2 separate regions of the Homo sapiens genome follow, and region 2 is linked to region 1. The links are contacts of gene promoters, found by promoter capture Hi-C in human tissues and cell types (Jung and others, 2019). All regions are on one chromosome and are shown on one strand. Each heading gives the region's core, a stretch centred on a gene start or on the middle of the fragment in contact. The rest is flanking DNA. Distances are from core to core; before and after follow the strand shown.

Region 1 (4,160 bases), core at 1,136-3,635:
AATGGAAAAAAATAAACATCATGTGTTCTGGGTTCTGACACATTCAGTCTAAATGTGCTGAGGAGAAATGGACACCAGAGAGCTGCCTGCTTCAGAGGCTCACTCACCCTCATGCACCACGGAGGGGCCAGAACAGACTTGGGGAGCCCAGTACATCCAGAAAGGCTTCGGTTTCAGGCTCACCCACGACTTTCTTTCTTTTTTTTTTTTAAAGACGGAGCTTCACTCTTGTTGCCCAAGCTGGAGTGCAATGGCATAGTCCTGGCTCCCTGCAACCTCCGCGTCCCGGATTCAAGCGATTCTCCTGCCTCAGCCTCCCAAGTAGCTGGGATTACAGGTGTACGCCACCACGCCCAGCTAATTTTTCGTATTTTTAGTAGAAACGGGGTTTCACCATGTTAGCCAGGCTGGTCTCGAACTCCTGACCTCAGGTGATCCCAAAGTGTTGGGATTACAGGCCTCACCCATGACTTTCTCAGCTGTCCACTCATCCACTGCTCACCAAATACTAGTAAACCAAAAGGATGGCTGGCCTAAAAGTGGCTCCCACAGGGTCCTGGCCATTTCAGAAGGCTGGGCCCTTTCTTCTCAAAGCACATCAAGCAGAGGTCCAACCATGACCCACACACTGCCCTTGTTAATCTGACCTCTCCATACTCATTCCAAAGTGCTCAATAGCATTCATTTGCAGAAGTAAAATGAACTAAAATTCATACTAAGATGGTAGTCCCTTGCTGTATGACAAGCCTAGGGGTGCAACTCCTTGCCTGCAGGTCTCCAGACACAGCCATGATTTAAGGTCCATGCCAGTGTCTTTAGAGAAGCCTTGTGGGTCTCTGGAGCCTATAAGTTCAGAGTTCCTGAAGCCTGGGTTTCTGACATTTCCATGACACCAGAGACTAGCTGGGGCAAAGGACCAGAGATAAGGACTCAGAAAGACAACATGTTAAAACATGCCCGGCGCCAGGATCTACCTACCTTTAAACATCTATTCATTCATTTACATACTTACTAAGCTCAGGAGCTGGGCTTTTACTTTACTTACATTATCTCACTCACAAATCTTTGCTCTTCACCCTACTCCCCATCCTCCTCCTCAAAGTAAATGGTACCACCATTCATCCAGTTGCTTAGGCAGAAACCAGAGTCATTGCAGATTCCTTCTCTTTGCTGTCCTCACATATTGTTCACCAGCAAGCTCTGTGGATGCTAACTCCAAAACAGATCTCAAATTCATCCGTTTTCCTCCAAGTTCACTGCCACCACAAACATCTTGGCTAAATCATCTCTCCTCAGGGCTATTACGACTTTCCATTTGATTTCCTCATTTCCACTCCTATCCCCTTTAAATTTACATAAGAGCAATAGTTTGCTTCTCAAAATGTAAAACTGGCTCAAGTCACTCTCCTGTCCCTCACTCTACACAGGTCTAGGTCTCCTGTCATTCTTTTTTTTTTGGGGGGGGGGGATAGGGCCCCATTCTGTCACCCAGGCTGGAGTGCAGTGGTATGAACATAGCTCACTGCAACCTCGACCTCCCGAGCTCAGGTGATCCTCCCACCTCAGCCTCCTGAGTATCTGAGACCACAGGCAAGCGCCACTACACCCAGCTAATTTTTGTATTTTTTGTAGAGATGGGGTTTTGCCATGTTGCCCAGTCGGTCTTGAACTCCTGGGCTCAAGCGATCCGCCCACCTAGGCCTCCCAAAGTGTTGGGACTACAGGCGTGAGCCATCACGCCCCGCCTGTCATTCTTTAGGTTTTAAATGTTATCTCCTCAGAAGCCTTCCTTCACCGTCCAATCTAAAAAAAGACACACACACAGACACACATTATCCTTCTTCACAGCACTTGCCAGTCTACATCTACTTTATATGTTCATTTATTGCCTTATGCACCAGAGAGAACCGTTCGGGGGCTAGAAGCCAAGTCTTCACGTTTTCTGCTGATTTTCCGAACACCTACCGCCGTGTCTAGCACAAAGTAAGACCTCAATCTGCTGAATCAATAGATTAATTTTTTCAACCCCAATATGCCAATGTTACTAATACTTCTACAGAGAAAGGACCCACCCAAATCCCCAACCGCCAAGGAACCCGTCCGTGCTGCTGAGGCAGGAGAAAGACAAGTGCTCTTCAAACGCCCTCACTCACGGCTCCACCCAGGATGTGTCACGTGACCAGCGACACCGTCCCTCAAACCTGGAGTACCCCACACACTTCCCCTCGCATCCAAGGTCCTCCGCGGGGATCAGTGTCACCTCCTTCCCTCCCTGCTGGAGCTCCACTCTGCCTCCCCGCCTCACCCCGCTCTGACTACTGCGTCCCATTACCGGCTGTCCGGGTCCTCAGCGCCAACACCACCGACGCCATGCTTTCGATCACTCACTTCCGGTCTCGAAAAGTTTCTACTTCCGCTATCAGGAGATCTACTTCCGGGCCCTGCGTGGCAGTTGAAAGAGTGGCGGGAGAAGTTGCAGGTGAGCGTCCCCGGTCGCAGGCCTGCGGATTGGGCAGGGCTTCCCTCCTGAACACCGCTCTGCAGAATCTTGGTGGCTAAGGTGTCCAGGAGCCTCTGCAGCGGACCGCCAGCCTGAGAGGCGCAGAGCTTGTCGGGCAGGGGCCCGCTTGTCCCACTCCCCTGATTTGCAGATGTCAACGGAGGCCCAGCGAAGGGTCAGAGATGAGGCCCCCTCCCTAGTCATTCAACTTACTCTACTTAGCCAGCTGTGTGCCAGATGCTGTACTAAGCGCGGTGGATGCATTATTTTATTTAATTCTCACTACCTTATAAAATGGGTGCTGTTACCATCCCTGTTTTACTAAGGAAGAAACTGAGGCCTAGGCAGGTTACATGTCTCCTTCTGGGTCATACCTACAGTGTTAGTAAATGTTCAAGAAATGATTAGCTTTGCATATGACCCAGCAATTCTACTCCTAGGTATATACACGAAAGGGATTTGAAAACATACCCCCACAAAAACTTGTATGTCAGTGTTCATAGCAGCATTATTCATAACAGGCAAAAAAAGGAAACAAATTAAATGTCCAAGTGATGAATGGATAAACAAAATGTAGCATATCCATACAGTGGAATATTATTCAGTCATGAAAAGCAATTAACTACTGATACAGGCTACATCATAGATAAACCTTGAAAACAAGCTGAGTGAAAAAAGTCAATCACAAAAGGCCACATAGTGTATGATTCTATTTATATGAAATATCCAGAATAGGCAAATGCATAGAGACAGATTTATGGTTGCCAGGAGCTGGGGAGGGAGGGAAAGGACAGTGACGGCTTAATGGCTGCAGGAATTCTTTTTGAGGTGATAAAATAGTGATGATGGTTGCACAACATTGTGAATATACTAAAATCTACTGAATGTACACTTTTAAAAGGATATTATGCTGTGCAAATTATATCTCTATTTTTATTTTTATTTTATTTTTCTTTTGAAGCAGGGTCTCACTCTGTCACCCGGGCTGGAGTGCAGTCGTACAATCACAGCTCACTGCAGCCTTGACCTCCCAGGCTCAAGCAATCCTCCCACCTCAGCCTCCTGAGTATCTGGGACTACAGGTGTGAGCCACCATACCCAGCTAATTTTTGTATTTTTTTGTAGAGACGAGTTCTCACTATGTTGCCCAGGCTGTTCTCGAACTCCTGGGCTCAAGTGATCCTTCTGCTTTGGCCTCCCAAAGTGCTGGGATTATACGCATGAGCTACCATGCCCAGCCTATATCTCAATTTTTAAAAAGAACAGTTTTTGGCCAGGTGCAGTGGTTCACACCTGTAATCTCAGCACTTTGGGAGGCCAAGGCGGGCGGATCACTTGAGGTCAGGAGTTCAAGACTAGCCTGGCGAACATGATGAAAACGCATCTCTACTAAAAATACAAAAATTAGCCAGGTGTGGTGGTGGGGCGCCTGTAATCCCAGCTAGGCTGAGGCAGGAGAATCACTTGAACCTGGGAGTGAGGTTGCAGTGAGCCAAGATTGTGCCACTGCACTCCAACGTGGGTGCCAGAGTGAGACTCCATCTCAAAAAAAAAAAAGAAGAACTTTTGACATCTCCATTTCAAACGTGAAGATAAACAAGGGGTTGGAGGTGTTAAATCTTGTTACCACCTCCCCCCATTAAAATTTTGTAATGGTAAC
Region 2 (4,160 bases), core at 758-3,257, 330 kb after region 1:
CCTTGGCCTCCCAAAGTGCTGAGATTACAGGCGTCAGCCACCGCGCCAGGTCCAGGTAGGTAGACTTTTGAGGCAGTCTGGAAACCATGGTTCTGGTGCTATCATATTAATAGTTATGTGGCCTAGGGCAAGTTATTCTCTGTGGTTGAGCCTCTCTCCATTGTCCCTTTCAGTTCCAAAATGGATGATTCCACTTAAAAAAACAAAATGTAAACTCACTTTTTTTTTTTTTTGAGGTAGAGTCTTGCTCTGTCGCCCAGGCTGGAGTGCAGTGGTGCAATCTTGGCTTACTGCAACCTCCGCCTCCCAGGTTCAAGTGATTCTCCTGCCTCAGCCTCCCAAGTAGCTGAGACTACAGGCATGCACCACCACGCCCAGCTAATTTTTGTATTTTTAGTAGAGACGGGGTTTCATCATGTTGGCCAGGATGGTCTTGATCTCCTGACCTCGTGATCCGCCCACCTCAGCCTCCCAAAGTGCTACTCACTTTAACTCTAAGCTAGCAAAATAGTCTGGCTAAGCATTACCTGAATCAAAATTTTAAATTTTAAATGCAGAGAGCGGAATAATGCCACATTCAGTAACTTTCTGTTTTGACCACCAGCAACATCTTAAGATGAGACTCCTTATTTAATTGGGAAGAATTCAATCTGCAGGCAGACATCTAAAGTCTTGGGTGACATTCTGTATTTGAAATTGTAATAAGAAAACTGGCCAGGAACGGTAGGCTCACATCTGTAATCCCAGCACTTTTGGAGGCTGAGGCGGGTGGATCACTTGAGGCCAGGAGTTTGAGACCAACCTGGCCCCATCTCTACCAAAAATACCAAAAAAAAAAAAAAAAAAAATTAGCCGGGTGTGGGGGCGCGTGCCTGTATTCCCAGCTATTTGGGAGGCTGTGGCAGGAGGATCACCTGAGCCGGGGAGGTAGAAGTTGCAGTGAGCCGAGACTATGCCACTGCACTCCACCCTGGGCGACAGGGCAAGACCCTGTCTCAAAAAAAAAAAAAAAAAAAAAAAAAAAAAGAAAGAAAATAATCGATAGGATAAACAAATGAGTTTTCCCTCAAACAGGCAACTACAGGCAGCAGCAGCAAATCGGTTGCAGTGAAACAACAGAGAAGCAGAATGGTGATGCAAATGTGTTTTTTTTTCCTGGTCTTGGCTAAGGAAATCGTGCTAGTTTATAAAATTCATATTTGCTCAGTTGCTTATGCTTTTAGCTCTGCAAGATGCGTTCTCCAGAAGCACCTACGGCAAATTAACTCAACACTCGAATTGGGGTGAGCTCCAACGCATAGTCGCTGAGAATCACTGCCTCCAGCACCGCTCTGACCAAGTGAGCCGGGAGCGCGGGGGAAGGGGGTAGGGCACCAGAGTCCCAGTGGGCGCTGCCCCGAGTGGACCACGTGGGCCGGGATTTGGGCAGGACGCGCTCCCGACCGCACGAGGCATGGGGGCCAGGGCTGGCCTCAAGAGAGCACAATCTCGGAGGCCCGAGGTGGCAGGCCTCGCCGTAGCCAGGCGTCCCGCGCTGGGCCCAGGTCGCGACTGACTGCCCCACGCCTTCCGACCGGCTGCCCTGACCCTAGGCCTCCCCCGCTCCCCACTTACCAGCCGTTGACCTCATTTTGGGAGTTCACATCCACCCCGCTCTCCACCAGTTTCTGCACCTCCCGAATGTCCCCTAAGGCCGCGGCCTCCCGCAGCCTCTCCTGCTGCTCCTTCTGCTCTAGGAGGGCGTTCATCTTCCCACAGCCCCAGGCCCCCGCCCAGGCCCGCCTGCCCCGCCCCGCCCGGGGCCTGTCAGCGCCGCCGCCGTCGCCGCGGCCCGCTCCCGGCCATGGGGAGGGAGCGCGGAACTCGCCCGCCCTGCTCGCGCCGCTGCCCGCGCCCGCCCCGGGACTTCCGCTCCCTCCCGCGGGCCGCCCCTGCTGCTCCCGGCCCGCAGGCCCAGGCCTCCTCCCGGGCCGCGCCTCCCGAAGGCCGGCTCCGGGGGACCCTGTTCAGTGTGACAACGCTGACCCAGATATTTTCCGTTCCGACCCGGGGCTCCGGCGCCCGGGCTGGCTGTTTATGTAACTACTGCACAATATTATATGCCATGATTCATTGACTATTTTTAGACTTCCCCACCCCGCAGTTTCAAGGGAGGAGGACAAGACACATGAAAAGAGAAAAAAGCATAGCTGAGGGCCAGAAAAGCCTTATCCTCTGGTGCAGGCTGTTTACCAGGCATCCAAAATAATTGGTGGGTTCTTTTTATTGGGATTTGGGGTTTTTTTGTTATTTTCCCCCAGTTTGGTTGGCTCCTTTTCCTTATCTGAGCCAATTCGTGCCCAGCAGGATGGGGAAATGGGCTGAAAACGATCCTACTATAATACGCCCATTATTACAGAGATAGATTAGACTCTTCTTCTTTTTGACAGTGCTTGGGGACAATTCAGTTAGAATATTTATTTCAATTGTTGTTGTTTTACATCTCATTTTAGACAGGATTTCTTCTAACCTGGCTTTCAGGAAAAATATTTATATTGTGCTCACAGTTTATGAACTGTAATTACTGCTTACAGATTGTAATTAGTTACTCTTCATGAAGGCCATATAAGGAGAAAAGAAAGGAAAAACACCAAAGAGGCTTTGGAGGTGTCCTGGTCCTGATTCCAAGTGCTCTGGGAAGAGCTGTGGTGTACATGTAAACAGCATTTTGCTTCACTTCTTGCCCGATCTATCTAATGAGGCTCAGAGCCTCAGTTGGCACTGTTTTATACCCAGTGGGAGAAAAAGGAAATATTGTTTTGTTGAGCCCAGGTGCCCTGAAGAGATCCTCCGATGTGGCACAGGATGGAACTTTACAGATGGGGTCAAGATTAAGGAAATAGCCCTGGGGAGGAAGGGAGGAAGGCCTGAACAAGGAGAGATGAAATAGGAAGGGATAAATTTAGGCATGGAGTTTTCATTTCCGTCTCTTGGGGCTGCTGGGATCTGCACAGCAAGCATTTTTCTTGCTACAGTTTAAGAAAAACCAATGTCTGTTTGTTTAGTATGATACAGTAATTCACACAGTACACAGTGCACACCAGGTGGTGCTGAATATAAACTGACTACACACTTAAATTGACCCCCATGGCAAATTGTAACCCTGCTTGAGCTTACATTTTCATTTGTTCCCCCAATTTAAATTTTAATTCTCACATCCAGCATGATACTCTATCTGAAACTGATGTGTATGGCACTGGATTTGAGTCCTTCAACACAATTTCAGTGACATGGGAGTAGGTAGTGGCTTGTTGTTTTTGTTTGCTTGTTTTTGAGACAGAGTCTCACTCTGTTGCCCAGGCTGGTGTTCGGTGGGGCGATCTCTGAGCTCCTTGCAACCTCTAAGTCCAGGTTCAGGCAATTCTCCTGCCTCAGCCTCCCGAGCAGCTGGGATTACAGGCCTGTGCCACCATGCTCGGCTAATTTTTGTATTTTTAGTAGACATGGGGTTTCACCATGTTGGCCAGTCTGGTCTCCAGCTCCTGACCTCATGTGATCTGCCAGCCTCAGCCTCCCAAAGTGCTGGAATTACAAGCATGAGCCACCGCGCCTGGCCTGTTTTTGTTTTTTTGTTGTTGTTGTTTTTTGTTTTTAATGCAGTTAAAAAAAATTGTTCGTGACTGCACCCCAAAGTCTATGAGTTCTTTTTTTTTTTTTTTTTTTTTTGAGATGGAGGAGTTTCGCTCTCATTGCCCAGGCTGGAGTGCAACAGCGCGATCTCGGCTCACCACAATCTCCACCTCCCAGGTTCAAGCGATTCTCCTGCCTCAGCCTCCTGAGTAGCTGGGATTACAGGCATGTTCCACCATGCCTGGCTAATTTTTTGTATTTTTAGTAGAGACGGAGTTTCTCCATGTTGCTCAGGCTGGTCTCAAACTCCCGACCTCAGGTGATCCGCCCGCCTCAGCTTCCCAAAGTGCTGGAATTACAGGCATGAGCCACCGCGCCCGGCCCCCAAAGTCTATGAGTTCTCTTTATGAGAGTTTGTCAAATGTCCCTTCCTTAAAAGGATTATAGCATGTACCCTACATAACTGCTGTATCCGTGAATATTAGTAGATCTTCTTAAACTCAACCTCTACTTACTCTGATTTCAGTCTTCTGTTTATTATCTTCAGATTA

Evidence for each region. The method cuts DNA at HindIII sites, captures the fragments that hold promoters and counts their contacts. A contact is called where the count stands out against the background at its distance.
Region 2: a contact is called between the fragment with the promoter of ANKRD40 here and the fragment with the promoter of MRPL27 in region 1, in 1 of the 25 tissues and cell types used here (dorsolateral prefrontal cortex).

Annotation. Positions count from the first base shown.
Region 1 is chr17:50,370,799-50,374,958 of GRCh38, forward strand. MRPL27 (mitochondrial ribosomal protein L27) reads right to left here and starts at 2,386. Exons shown (of 4, transcript NM_016504.3): 1 at 2,333-2,386. The coding sequence starts at 2,372. It overlaps EME1 (essential meiotic structure-specific endonuclease 1), which reads left to right and starts at 2,431. Exons shown (of 9, transcript NM_152463.4): 1 at 2,431-2,479. RefSeq lists a silencer at 1-136 and enhancers at 1,920-2,389, 2,530-2,749. The HindIII fragment of the contact is 32,602 bases long and covers 1-4,160 here.
Region 2 is chr17:50,705,907-50,710,066 of GRCh38, forward strand. It overlaps ANKRD40 (ankyrin repeat domain 40), which reads right to left and starts at 2,008. Exons shown (of 5, transcript NM_052855.4): 1 at 1,615-2,008. The coding sequence starts at 1,748. RefSeq lists silencers at 1,344-1,613, 1,744-1,953. The HindIII fragment of the contact is 5,112 bases long and covers 1-2,640 here.